Regions from separate parts of the Homo sapiens genome. Here region 1 is linked to region 2. The links are contacts of gene promoters, found by promoter capture Hi-C in blood cells and fetal thymus (Javierre and others, 2016). All regions are on one chromosome and are shown on one strand. Each heading gives the region's core, a stretch centred on a gene start or on the middle of the fragment in contact. The rest is flanking DNA. Distances are from core to core; before and after follow the strand shown.

Region 1 (7,237 bases), core at 556-3,055, about 11 Mb before region 2:
CTTATGTCATAGCTCAAAACAATACTTAAATCCTTACAAAGCTAACAAAGGAAGTAATGTTGCCATGTGTCATTGTCACAGAATTACCAGAAGTTTGGGGGATTTGGGTGTTCATCTTTCTATTGTGGAGTTTTTAGGGTGGTGATGGCAGTTGTGTGGTGGTTGTCATTTGGCAGGAATTGAAATTGGAGGCTTCTGTCATTCTGATTACTTATCCAACGAATGACACAAATAAGAGCATGTTTGTAGGGAAGAACTCAGGTGGGGACAGCACCTTCTATTTAATCTCTTAACCTGTATTATTAGGTTGTATATTTTAGGAGAAGAGAGGAAAGTGGCAAAAGGAGGCACAGATACAAATTTATACAGATCACCAGCTAAGTTTGGCCACAGTGGTTTGCCAAAGAATTTCAATAACTAATACTTAGAGTGCTTACTGTGCACCCTGCTAAGCACTTCACATGCTTTATTTCACTTTATCCTCAAAATAACCCAAGGAAATAGCTATCATTGTTATCCCCAGAGACCAAGATCTCATGGATAGTGAATGTCAGAGCCAGGACTGGAACCATAGAGGAGTCTGTGTTGTAACCACTGAACAACTGACTTTCTACCCTGCTTTAAAATGTTGCCTGTTGTTTGTTGTTGTTGTTTTTGAACGGTGGTGGCCAATCTGCCTCCACAATCCAGACATAATTTCGGCACTAAACAGAAATACTTTAGTCTATACAAACTTCATGTAAGTAGTTCCTGCATGAAACTATTTCCCAAGTAATACAGCACCGATTTACACCTGGCAGAAGGCATAGTTTTGATGTGAACAGTTGGGGGAAGCTTGTTTCTCTACACCCTCAAGCACGCCCACAGCAGGAGCTGAGCAGCAGGCCAGACGGCACAGAGCCCTCCTGGGACTGGTTATTTACATTAACCAAGGTGGAAACTTCTCCCGGAGATAGGTGCTGCCAAGAACCCTAGAGGAAGTAAGACGCTTTATCTTTTGCACGCACGCCAAGTCTTCAGAGGGCCTGGATGGGTGTGACTCCAAGGAGCTAATCGTCCCGTGCAGGTGCAAATCTAGACCCGTGTTTATGTGGAGGTGTAGACGCAACTGGAGATGACCCGGTTAGTGGCTGACGTGCGTGGGAAAGCCCACCAGCAGCGTTGTTGGTTGGGTTGTCTCTGTAAGTGTGGACAGTGTGTTGGTGGGCACCCAGTTCCGATTGCCCCGTCTAGACAGGGGTGTGCGGGCACTCAATGTTCCACGCGCGGCCGGGAGCTCGCAGTGTGGTCCACGCCAGTGCGCCTGGAAGCCCAGGGGATCTGTCCGGCACTCCACTGGAGGCTTGGCCCGCGGCTTCGCCCACCTCCCCAGAGCCCCGCTCAGCCCCCGCTCCCCCCGCTCAGCCCCCGCTCAGCCCCCGCTCAGCCCCCGCTCAGCCCCCGCTCAGCCCCCGCTCAGCCCCCGCTCAGCCCCCGCTCAGCCCCCGCTCCCCCACTCGGCCCCGCCCCCAGTGCCCTGGCAGGCCCCGCCCCCAACGCCGGGCGCTCCCGTCGGCTCGGCGGCCTCAGTTCCGTAAACACTTCTCACCCCGCCCCCGGCAGCCCGGACCGCACCACTCGCCGCGCGGGGGAACCGTGCCCTCTCGCATCCGAAACACCCTCCCATCCGAGCTGTTCTCGGCCTCTCTGGTTCAAACTGACGAAGACTGTTTCTCTAATAGGTTCAGTCTGTGAGCGCTCGGCTTTCGGAGACTGAAGGGCCCTGGATCCCCTTGCCCCGTCGCGCCGTCGTCCCCCCGCTATCCGGTTTTGTGATGGCCGCGCCGTGGCTGCCTCCCTAGAGTCCCTCAGGGCCCTTTAAATACCGCGTTGGGGGGGACACTGGGGCTGGGGGGGTTTGTTGGGCTGGTGAGTTTTCGAGGTGACTGTGCTGTGCTCGGTGAGGGGACGCCCAGAGAGCCCTGACCCGGGGTCACTCCGTCGCCGTTCTCCTCTTGTCTACGTGCTGGACCCGGTGCGTATCCATCACGGGGGAGGCGTTGCCGGCTCGGAGGTGACCGGCCAGGTCCAACGGAGGGGACACCGCTGCAGCCCGAAGGCTCCCCTGCCCTATCTCGGAACTCCATCCTGGGAAGGCGGGGTCAGGGGCCATCAAGCTCGGCTCCTAGTTCATGTCTTCCCACTCCGCGTCCCCTTGTTTGACCTCGAACTGCCGTCCCGCGTGGGAGCGGGGAGCGGGGCACCGAGTGGCCGCCCCGCGTGTCGGGGTGGACACGGACTTCGGGCCTCGGAGGCCGCTTCGCCGCTGTTTAAATCCTGCTGGACAGGTACCAGCGGCATCCCGCCATCAGGGGCCCAGGGCACCCCCTTCCCCCACACTCCTCGGCCGGGCTGGAGTAGGGAACTGAGCCAGGGTAGAGGCAGGGCGGGCCCGGCAGCGTGTGTTTGGGATTTGTTGCCGTGGTTTCCCCGGCACTCAGCTCTGCCTCCGCCGTCCCCTCCCCCAAGGGTTTGTTTTGACAGGAAACCTGGTGCTGCTGGAGGGGAGGGGCGGCCAGAGGACGTGGGTGAGGTCGTGCAGACTGCTGCTGCGTCCCCTTGCCGGGACCTTTGGTTAAGGGGAAGAGGTGGAGAAAAGCCGATTGGGCCTGGGCTCGAACGCTGAACCCTCAGGTGTTGCTTGTGCTTCCCAAAGCTGCTACTGTAGGTGGCACCACTGGGGGTAATAGCAATGATTTGAGGTGGCATATGGATGAACATAGTTACTTGTTTTCGTTACTATTAAGAAAATCTGTTCCATTAAGTAAGCAGTTTCACAATGATAGAGTTTCCTTTTAAAATAAATATATTTAAATGCAAAAATCTAGTCAAGATAGAGACGCGGTTACTAAATTATAGTAAAGGTAAGGAGGGAGACGTAGAAATAGTCATGAAGAGTGGCACTCAAACGACTTAAGTTTGGGAAATCTTAGATGGTTGTCCTGCTACCTTAACTGTGAAGAAACTGGACAAGTTGTCCTTGTCCCCAGTGGGTGTCTCAGCACCCATGGTCACCAGCCCAGTCAGGGACTTTGCTCTTCTTACCTGCCAACGGATAATGAGTTAATCTCAGTGGTTCCCACTTGAGGAGGCTCCCTGCCGTGGTCCTTTTCCTCTCTTCTCTAGGGATTTCATGCATCACCCTGACAGCCAGTGGAAGTTGCCTGATTTGAAGAGGCCCAGGGCCGAAGATACCCAGTCATGTGTGGAAGCAGCTTCAATGCCATTTTGTGAGAGGTTGAGGGCCCCAGAGGGGGAAGCACAGGTATTAAAACAAAACAGACCAGCAAGTGTGGGAGGAGTGCTTTCAAATGTGAAAAGTGCCAGGAATCCTTCTCCCTGATGCTGTAATGCCACGTGTAACGTGAACATCTGCTTTGTGGACAGTGACTGGCTTGTTGGCTTTTATCTAGCTCTTTGTTGGTTCTAACTTGATGAAGACCAGTATTGTCTAGATGAATGGTATGGGCCCCTATCCCTCTGCTCTATGGTTTTTGCTTTGCTGTGGATGAATAACTTTAGTGCTGCTATTTAAGACTGATTCTAAAGCAGCATTTTGCAGAAGATGGAAATTTTTCACATCATCTGCAATTTTTTTCTTTAGAGCCCAGACTTAGTCCTCTGACTCCCTTCCCTTTACTACACATATGTGAAGGCTTGTCCTTGCAGCTGACCTCGATCTAGTGTTGAAGGATGGTACACACTAGAAGTTTCTTGAAATTTCTTTTTTGCGTGAGCTAACCTTAACTGGATGGGTTCAATTCCTCAAGGCCCTGCTGGGTAATCTGAATATTTCACTCCAAAATGTTTATGACTGTAAGCAGTTAACCTTTTTGCTAATACGTGGGGTCTAACTAGGGATTTTGCGGTGCATAAAGAATGGCTCCCTCCTAGAGGATTTTCTGTCACTGTAGCGGGGTGGTGAAGAATTGTTTTGGGTGACGTACTCCTTCAGTGATGCCCTTCACAGAATAGCACTTGAGCAGCCATACCAGGATAAGATCAGCTTGCTACCACATGTGCAAGTGTCCACAGGGTGATGGGTAGATGGATTTGGCAGAGTGGGAGTGGAAAGAATGAGCAGCACACCAAATTTTCTCCAGCCAAACTGGAGTGGTAGAGAGCATGGGTTTTAGGGATCCGCTTCCTGGATTTGAGTTGTGCCTCTACACTGCTGTGAACCCTTGGGCAAGTAACGCAACCTCTCTGGGCCTCAGGATCTTATTATAAAATGGGGATAATACTGATACATTAGCTAACAAGGTTATAATAAGGATTCAAGGAGATAAAATATATAAAGAACTTATCATAGAACAGTTATTGAGTGCTTATTACTACCTCAATAATAAGCACTCAATTACTGTTAGCTGTAATTGTTGTTATTTGCTACACGTGAGTTTCTTTAACCTCCTGGAACTGTGGGTCTTTGCTAGTTTGAATTTTTGGTGCCTTGCAAATGCACTGAAGTAGGCACTGGGAATTGGAGAGGAGAGTCATCGCTTCCACCAGCAGCTTAAAATCTAGTGGGAGACAGATATGCACACAAGTGTAGTACTGTAAGTGACTGCGTAATGGGAATATGAGTAATGTGAGTGAGGCAGAAAAGAAGGAAAACTCAAGGTGTCTTATGAATAGGAGTGTGGCGTAATTAGTTCATGCAGCTGTACTCACTGAGCTCCTGCTCTAGCCCTAGCGGTGTTCTAAGCTCTAGCTGGCTCATTAGATGCAGTGAGTGTAGCAATCAGGGAAGGTTACCTCGTAGTTGGTGACATTAAATTTCAAATCTGAATGACAATAGGGAGCCAACCACAAGGAGATCAGGGAGAGGAACATTTCAGGGGCAGAGAACAGCAGGTATGAGTGCCCCGAAATAGGAAGTTTGGCATGTCTGAGGAACGCAAAGAAGATCATGAAGGGTTAGTGGGAGAACACTGCAGAATAAGGTGGGCAGAGTTAAGATCACAGAGGGTTGTAAACCATGGCCCAGTGACTTAGGAAAAGGGAACCCACCTAGGGATGAACTCTTAAAAAGGATTATCTATTTTGCCTTTTCTGGAGGGCTCTGGCCTATTTCCTGTTTTATTCTTTAGGCACTGTTCAAGAAGGACATCAGGACAAGTTTGACTGTCTAGAAGAGTTCTTGTAATAGAGTGGTATTTAAGCTATCACAGCAGTGGGCACAATCAGAATTTCAAAACTGCAAGAGGTTGGACTGTTCTGAATTTGAATCTTGAAGTTTCAGTTCAGCCTGTCATCTTCTCTTTTAACCTTCTATTTGGAAATACTTTCAAACTTACAGATAAAGTCGTGAGAATAGTATAAGGAATACCATGTTGTCTACCTTTTTCTCAGATTCACCTATTAACATTTTGCTCTATGTGCTTTATTATTTTTTCTCTCTTGCATTTGAATCATTTGAGAAAAAGTTGTATATGTCATGGCCCTTTATTCCTAAATACAAAACCACAGTACATTTCAACTTCAGTATATTTAACATTGGATAACAGACAGTAGATTCAAATATTGTTAACAGTGCTATTGATTGACTGATACTGTCCTTTACAGCATTTTTGCTTCAGTATAGGATCCACTCTAGGATCACCTATTGCACTCAGTTATCAAGTGTTTTTTTTTCATTTGGAACATATTCTCAACCTTTCTTTGTTTTTTATGACATTACATTTTCGGAACTTGTAACTTCTTTTAATAAGAATAAAATAATAGTTGACATCCGTCAGGCACTTACTAGGAGCTTAAGTACTTGACAGATACTATTTCAGTTAATCTTCACAACACTTCTACAAGGTGGATACTATTATTGTCCCATTTTACAAATGGCGAGTTCTCTGTTTCTAGTCAGTAAATAATCAAGAGGAGCCGGGATCAAGAACCCAGTCCACCTAGCTCCAGAGGCAATGTTCTTATGGCTTCAGTGACATGTATTATCATCAGTGTATCTTTGCAATTCTGAACCAGTGCAGAACTATTTGCAGATAGAGTTGCTGCAGAAAGGAAATCAGGAAGTAAAGCTGCACACGAGCTGAGGAATCACAAGCAAATTAAAAACCAATCTCCTCTCTATCTGTAGTGAAATACAGCACTAGCCCCTTCAAGTCCTTGTACCCATTCACACCTCTTAAATGTCAGTAGTCTTACTACCATTCATTTATTCAACAATAAATATTTGAATAAATATTTGAATGCTTGCTGCATTCCAGTGATGGTCTCAGAAGAAATGACATTATATTTATTATCACAAAGTGATGGAATAATACAATCAAAAATGTGAATATGACAGTACTTTTCTTTGAATAGTGACCTGCTATCGTGTTGGAGGCTTTGCTTGGAGTCATCTTCAGTCTTTTCTGTTGACTTTACCTTTGACCAGTGATTAAATCCTCCAGGTATGATGAGATGTGATGTTTCTGAAAAGTTGTTTGATTTACTTGTGAGTTGCAGTGGCAAAGGTTAGGTAGATCTAAGTTTGCATAAGGAGTATTACCTTTCTTAAAGATACAGCCTGGTTTCATTATCATCAGTCTAAAGGATAATCCAAAATAGTTTTTAAAGCAATCTAAATATCCTCAGTGCCTTTTGAATCAAGTAGGTTTGTCCCCAGGTGACTTACTTGGAAACTCAAGACCGAGAAAGGTAAGAGCAGGTATGAAGGAACTTGCGGAAGACCATTCACACAGTGATGGGCCATTCGCTTTTGGTTTTTGTCTGTCAAACAAGTGCCAAGAGTTCTGTTCTATGTTAACTACCAGCCTTGTTTGTCTGTTGAAGAATATGGTGTTATCCTGACATAAAACTGTTCTTCCCTCCAGAGTGTTTAATTCCTGAGGCAATGATATTAACAAAAAAAAGCAAATAATAGAAAACATTTGTATACTGTTTACTGTGTCAATGACTGTTCCAAACACGCTGCATGTATTGGGTACCTGAAATCTCACACCAACCCTATGAATTAGGTATTCTTAGTAAGCCTATATGAGGAAACAGACAAATTTTTAATAGAGTAATAATGGGCATTTTGGCTTCAAATACAGGTTTCTGTTTGGATACACTAAGGCCCAGTTGTAATGTGGAGGCTTCTACCCACTAAACAAGAGTTTCTAAACATTTTGAAGCTTTTAAATTTTCCATTGCAGCCCCTGTGCCAGGAACTCTACCTCCAGTGAATTGCTGGAAGAAAGTG
Region 2 (7,538 bases), core at 4,671-7,170:
TTGAGACCAGCCTGACCAAGAGGGAGAAACACCGTTTCTACTAAAAATACAAAATTAGCTGGGTGTGGTGGTGGGCACCTGTAATCCCAGCTACTCAGGAGGCTGAAGCAGGACAATCTCTTGGACCCAGGAGGCAGAGGTTGCCAAGATCACGCCATTGCACTCCAGCCTGGGCTACAAGAGCGAAATTCCATCTCAAAAAAATAAAAATAAGTAAATAAATTATGTAACATACCACAAAAGAGTAAGTAGACATTAACAATAGTGATTTTGATGTTTTACCCGTTGAAGAGGATGGATTTCCATAAGGTACTGTTGAATGAGAAAAAACAATATAGAAAAGTACCTATTATGTGATCCCAATTTTGTGCAATAATGATCCCTTCCCATACTCATCACTGTCAGCAAGAAGAATGCAACCTGGGCTGTTATCAAGAATTACAGAGGTGGGGGCAGGAAAGGACAATGTAAACAGAGGGAATGGGGAGGAAAAAGGAAACAGCATAAATAAGAGAAAAACCAGGTCTGTACTAAACACCAAACCAAAACAACCAACAAAGTAGGTATGAGGTCCCATTTATGTATTTTAAAGTACATATGCACATTAAAAAACACAAGTCAGCTTTTATTTTTAAGACTGCACAATACTGACTACTAGATCATACTTCAATTCATTTATAGATAAACCAAAATAGAAATGGAAAAATGACCTCTGCATCTGAACTCATCCAAGGCCTAGAATAGTGACACATCTTACCTCTACCCACAGTTGTTCCACTGATAGATATTTCTCTCTCCTAAATCCCCTTTAAAAAACAACATAAATATTTCATGCCTTGTTTGTGAGATATTTCGCAAAGATTCCTTTTAAGGAAGATGTTAAACTAACATTCTTATCTTCCATCACTAGAAAGTTTTCAGAACTTTTAGAACAGAAAGTCTTTTCCACAGGAAAGTTAGGCTGGAAGCCCACTCATCTTTCAGGGAAAAACTGGAAATTAACCTTCACAGCAGAAAATAAAAGGTATATGAAATTTTAAGCAATAACCAAGACATAAGGGGTTCTTCTTGATCAAGTGAGTCCCTAAGTACGCAGTTTTCTGACTGGAAGATAAAAGAAAGGCTCACCCAAAGATCTACAGTGTTCAAAGAACAAAGTAGATTATTTTGTACCGCAATTCAGAAATTGTAAAAAATCATCCATTAAATTAAGACATGCCTAAGAAATTATTATTTTTAAATTAAAAGATTCAATTCATGATAGGCAAATCTGATAGTAAGTGGAGAGGTAATAATGAAGGAAGGATGATTTATATTACCAGAAGGTTTCTTTTTTTTATGAGACGAAGTCTTGCTCTTGTCCCCCAGTCTGGAGTGCAATGGTGCAATCTCGGCTCACTGCAACCTCCACCTCCCGGGTTCAAATGATTCTTCTGCCTCAGCCTCCCGAGTAGCTGGGATTACAGGTGTGTACCACCACACCCAGCTAATTTTTTGTATTTTTTTAAGTAGAGATGGGGTTTCACCACGTTGGCCAGGCTGGTCGCGAACTCCTGACTTCAGGTGATCCGCCCATCTCGGCCTCCCAAAGTGCTGGGATTACAGGCGTGAGCCACCGTGCCTGGCCTATTACCAAAAGGTTTCTAAACAACACAACAGATACAAGGGTCTGGGGCACAGTATTTGACCCATAGTAGTGCTAAACATTAATTCCATTTTCTTTCCAAAAGGATTTTTGTAAGGTTTCTTTATATGTCAATTGTCTTGGTGTATCTACCTAATATACACAGAACTTTTCAAAACTGTAACTATGACAAGGCGTGAAATATTTGGAATCACATATTCCAGGGTTTAGCCACACAGAAATTACAGCAATTTACTCTGGACTTATTAAAGCAAACAAATCCCTGCTAAAGCTATGGCTTACCTTCCTTCCATATTTAGGATACACACCAGTTCATCCTCAAAAAAAATCTCTGGTCCTTCAAGGTTCTCAATGTCACTGAAGCCATTACAAGGAACCTATGAAGAAGACATATACAAGTAGGCCTCAATTATGAGTATTGATGCAACTCTCACTCTCACAAATTTGAGCTGAAATAAAGATGTCCACTACTAAAGACAGTGCTAACAGTTATTCTACACTACCTTGCACTACCAGTCATGGGTAGAAAATAACATAAAGTAACAATAATTTACTGAGGTTTTGTTGTTGTTTGTAATCAATGATGTTTTCATAGACTGGAATTTCTGAAACTGACAACTCACAGTTCTAACGTAAAGAAAACTAGCTCTGGCCGGCCATAGTGGTTCATGACTGTAATCCCAGAACTTTGGGAGGCCAAGGCAGGCAGATAACCTGAGGTAAGGAGTTTGAGACCAGCCTGATCAACGTGGTGAAACCCCATGTCTACTAAAAATACAAAATTAGCCAGGCATGCCTGTAATCCCAGCTACTTGGGAGGCTGAGGCAGGAGAATCACTTGAACCCGGGAGGCGGAGGTTACAGTGAGCCAAGATTGCGCCATTGCACTCCAGCCTGGGCAACAAGAATGAAACTCCGTTTTAAAAAAAATAAAAAGGCGGCGGCGGCAGGTGCAGTGGCTCACGCCTGTAATCCCAGCACTTCGGGAGGCTGAGGTGGGCGGATCACCTGAGGTCAGGAGCTCGAGACCAGCCTGACCAACATAGAGAAACCCCATCTCTACTAAAAATACAAAATTAGCCAGGCGTAGTGGCGCATGCCAGTAATCCCAGCTACTCGGGAGGCTGAGGCAGGAGAATCACTTGAACCTGGGAGGCAGAGGTTGCGGTAAGCTGAGATCACACCATTGCACTCCAGCCTGGGCAACAAGAGTGAAACTCTGTCTCAAAAAAAAAAAAAAAAAAAAAAAAAAGATCTTCTGAGTTTAAAATTCTATGGCTTCTCTCAGTTTTCTTTTTGCAAGTAGCCAGAACATTTCAGGTCAACCTGTGTGCATTCTGAGAACACAGGAACGCCAAGATCCCGGGCCAAAGCAATCACCCACCCACAGATTAATGTTAAGTATGCTCCCGCTGTGTTCAAAGTCCTTGACATACTTCTAATTAAGCAGTGGTACAGGAAAAGGGGGAGCTGAGGAAAAAACACAACAATCCATCATTATTACACAGAGGCACAGACTGTTCAAAACATACACAAAACCAGCTGGACTAGAAATGGAGGTTGCAGGCTCATAGTCCATGACCAACTGCACCAAACATAGCTAGTACCAAAATCTACGTATGTGCAAACACATTCAGATCAGCATTTACAATTTGTGATTATGAATGCTTTTAGCCAGGGCATGGCTTCTCCAAAGTAAAATACAAATTTTGTTTATTCTAACACTAATAAATATTTATAGAAACCAATTACACTAAGGAATGTCTATTTGTATTCTCCATAGGGGAAAACATTCAAATTTGTCCAAAGTTCAAATTTTCCCTTTCAAAACTTGAAAAGCCTTGAAAACATTTCAAATTATTAACTCCATTAACTAACAGTAATTAAAATTAGAGAATCCAAAGGAGTCTTTAGGAAAACAAAAAAGTGAAATAAATCAGATTGGCTCTATTTCTAGAACCCCAACCAGAAATAAATATCGAATAGTTTGTTGAACTCAAAACATTAGTGTGGATTATTTTCCAGAGTTACAAAAAGGGATCAGGGGCAGATACAGAAACTTCCGTGAGGCCAGGCACGGTGGCTCACGCCTGTAATCCCAACACTTTGGTTTGCAGAGGCCGGCGGATCACTTGAGACCAGGTGTTCAAGACCAGCCTGACCAACATGGTGAAACCCCAACTCTACTAAAAATACAAAAATTATCCAGGTATGGTGGCGCATGCCTGTAGTCCCGGCTACTCGGGAGGCTGAGACATGAGAATTGCTCGAGCCCAGGAGTAGGAGGTTGCAGTGAGCTGAGATTGCGCCACTGCACTCCAGCCGGGGAGACAAAGCAAGACTCTGTCTCAAAAAAAGAAAAAAGAAAGAAACTTCCATGAGACATTTTGAGGAAAGAAAAAAAGAAAACAAAACAAAACAAAACAAAAAAAACCCACCATGTATTTCTGCAATACTTAAAAAAAAAAAAAAACCCAAAAACTTTTCAGGGATAATGAATGCAAGACAATTCATTTCAGGGAGTAATAACTCTGATTTATAGGTAGCTTTTAATCCTCTGTTACCTTAACAAATAATGCAGTTCACTACTGGGTAGAACCTGCAAAGCCAGAGAGAAGAACCACATTAATTTCGTCAACCCTTCTGGGAAAACAACCGGGAGAAATTTACAGTGTTCAATCATTGATGATTCCCCAAATAACGGAGGGGTTGCAAAAAAAATCCGTTGAACCCATTTGAGAAATAATGCTGATCTGGACTCCGTCTACATTGTGCTGCGTGGGTCCCTCCCTGCTCCCTCCACCCCCACTCTCTCTCTGGCTTTAGAAAAGTAAAGCTGGCACAGACAAATGGCTTCGTGTTGTTGGATAGGAGGAAAAGGACACAATGACTCTTGCAGCCATCTAAGTGAGTAAGGGATTGTGAGAGCATTGAAAAGGGAGATACGAAAAGAGCTGGATGAGCTCATGCCTGCAGACCCAGACACATACACCAGCAAGCCAAAGCTTAGAGCCACATCAACAGATCCTTACGTGCTCTGAAAAGAACCTCTTTGAGAACGAGGCTACAATCTTCCGCGCTTCTAACCCAGCTTTTTGCCGAACTTTATACTCTTCCAACCAATTGACGTAGTCGGTGGGGCTGTAGTGTTTCATAAGGGAAGGCCACCTACGAGGAGAGAAACACCCCCTCAGCTTAACAGAAACTCAAAGGCAGGCGGCCACGAATCCAAGGCAGCCTTGGAAACAGGGACAGCAGTGGCGTCCAGTGGTAAGAGGGACCCCGGCGAGAGACCTAGTTCAAAACCCCACCAGCATTCACTCACTCACTCCCGGTGTGACCTTGGCGTAGCGGCATGAATGATGTCTCCATTCCCCATCTCTAAAATGGGGACAGTTGTAACAACAACAACAATAATAATAATGACAATGACAGTGAGCACTGATTGAGCGCCTCCTAGGAGCCGGGGCCCTGCGTGCGTGCCTCCCGGACATCATCTAATTTAATAAACACGGTGAAAGGTAGGTCTAATGATCACCACCACTCAAAGTCTATGAACGAGGCTCAAAAAAAGGGAAGTCGCTCCCCCCAAGGTCACAGAGGGAGTGTGCAGGGCCAGATTTCATCCTGGGGCCACGCTGAAATCTGTGCCGTCCACAACCAGCCCGGGGATGCTGCGCCCGCCCGATCGATGCATCACTGGGTCCATGTAAACATTTCAGCCCGAAGTCGGGCACAAAAGAAGCGCGCAAAAGGGACGAGCCGCGCCGCCGCCAGCGTCACCCTTGACGGAGGACCCGGCTGCGAGGCGCTCCTAGATGCGCCATTTGGGGACCCGGGGGTCCGCCTGGCGTGGCCCCGCAGGGTCCGGGGCCTGGAGGCCTTTGTCTGTCTGTCCGCGGGAAGGGGTCCGGGGTGGGGTCCGCGCGCGGGGCGGCCGCGGGGAGCTAGCGGGGCGGCTGCCCGGCCCCGGGGGGCGCGGGGCGGTGGGCGCGCAGCCGGGGCGCGGGGCCGCTGGCTCACCTCACCCGGAACTGCTCCTTCCACACCTTCCCGCTGCTCTGGCACAGCTCGCGCAGCCGCCGGCAGGTGCTGGAGACACGGCCGATGTCGGCGGCCGTCAGCGAGCCGCAGCACAGGATGTACTCCAGCACCTCACCCGGCAGGTTGACGAGGCAGCTGAGGCCCGCTACCTCCGGCGCGGCCTCCTCCGCCAGCGCCGGCACCACCTCCATCGCGCTGTCGACTGCTGCCGCCGCCATCTTGTCCGCGTACCTGGGGCCGCCGCGCGCGCGCGTGCGAGAGTGCCCGGGCGCCCCGCCTGGCCCCGCCTACTGGTCTTGGGGGCGAGTCCTGAGATCGCTCCGCCCATCCGCGGGCCACACCTCCCCTGCATCGGCTGGGGGCTGCGCGGGTGGCAGCGCCGCAAAAGGGAGGACATAATTGGGCTCTGTGCTTGGAGCCGGCAGCGCAAGCCGCCTCTAGTCCGGGACAACAATAGTAGCACTGATTCTTTTAAACGTAATTAATGTTTAAAATTAACAAATAAAAATGGTATCTATTCTCACGCGTGCTGAGCGCTTTCTGTGCGCATTGGACCTTTCCGAATTACCCTGCGAACTTTCTCCCCATATTACAGATGGGGAAACAGGTTCGGAGAGTGAGAGGGCTTGCTCAGGATCCCTTGTCTTGGATTTTTTTTCCCCCTTTGGGAAGGAGTCTTGCTCTCACCCAGGCTGGAGGGCAGTGGCGCTATCTCGGCTCACTGCAACCTCTGCCTCCTGGGTTCAAGCGATTCTCCTGCCTCAGCCTCCCGTGCGGATGGGATTACAGGCGCGCGCCACCACCCAGGTTGGAGTGCAGTGGCCGTGATCTCGGCTCACTGCAACTTCCACCTCCCTGGTTCAAGCAATTATCCTGCGTCAGCCTCCCGAGTAGCTGGGATTACAGGCGCCCGCCACCACAGCCAGCTAATTTTTGTATTTTTAGTAGAGACAGGGTTTCACCATGTTGGTCAGGCTGGTCTCGAACTCCTGACCTCAAATGATCCACCCACCTCGGCCTCCCAAAGTGCTGGGATTACAGGCGTGAGCCACCGCGCCCAGCCCCTTGTCTTGGATTCTATTTCAGATCCACTTGACTTTTGCTTGTCAGTAATCTTAACCATATGATGTAATAATAACAATATTCTTGAGTGGGTGCTATGGGAAGCCCTCTATGATGGTGTAGGGGAGTAATAATAATCCTCAAATGTGTGCCCTGATTTTAGGCTAATAGAGGGCAGGCAGAGAGCTCTCCTGTACTGGTTTCTTAATTGTTTCCAGCTCAACAATCCTTCATATTTGGGGAGCATAGTCTGACCTCCCACAATAGGTACCACAGTTATACCTATTCTACAGAAAAGGCAAAGTTCTTCCAGGTGGCAGTCACTGGTTCAAAGTTACAGAGACAAAAGTGCTAAAGCCTGGATTTGAGTCTTCAAAGCGGGAGTTATCACTCAGGATTGGGAGGGTAGTCTCAGGATCTGCACATTAAAAAAAAAAAATCAGTTTAGTTCAGTGCCAAAGCCCTGTGTTGTGTGCCCTGGGGATACAGGGGTGAGAAAAATGGAGTCTTTGCTTCAAAACCTCAAAGTGCAATTACAGTTAGAAGGATCTGTTGTCAGTACATGGAGGGTCCAATGAAGTACTCCTGGCAACTTGGAAATCAAGATGCCCTGAGAGAGCTGAACTAGTAAAGTGACTCTCAATGGATGGCGTTGAGCCATCTGTGGCTCCCTATTTCCCGTAGAAATGAATGTGACATCCCAAACATTGTTGCAAAGCAACAAACTCCACCTCTTCTTACCTATCTGAAGTCTTTCTCTCTCACTAGCCATGCATACCCCAGCAAG

Evidence for each region. Contacts are between HindIII fragments. The CHiCAGO score rates a contact against its expected background, and 5 or more counts as called.
Region 1: the fragment with the promoter of TCP11L2 here is called in contact with the fragment with the promoter of FBXO21 in region 2 in 1 of 17 cell types (non-activated CD4 T cells); the score reaches 5.6 in non-activated CD4 T cells.

Annotation. Positions count from the first base shown.
Region 1 is chr12:106,300,928-106,308,164 of GRCh38, forward strand. TCP11L2 (t-complex 11 like 2) reads left to right here and starts at 1,806. Exons shown (of 10, transcript NM_152772.3): 1 at 1,806-2,014. RefSeq lists a silencer at 1,444-1,563 and enhancers at 1,584-2,469, 1,644-1,723, 1,734-1,873. The HindIII fragment of the contact is 6,335 bases long and covers 833-7,167 here.
Region 2 is chr12:117,184,550-117,192,087 of GRCh38, forward strand. FBXO21 (F-box protein 21) reads right to left here and starts at 5,921. Exons shown (of 12, transcript NM_015002.3): 1 at 5,669-5,921; 2 at 4,678-4,813; 3 at 1,928-2,022. The coding sequence starts at 5,907. RefSeq lists an enhancer at 5,048-5,137 and silencers at 5,608-5,657, 5,938-6,037, 6,078-6,137. The HindIII fragment of the contact is 6,345 bases long and covers 4,649-7,538 here.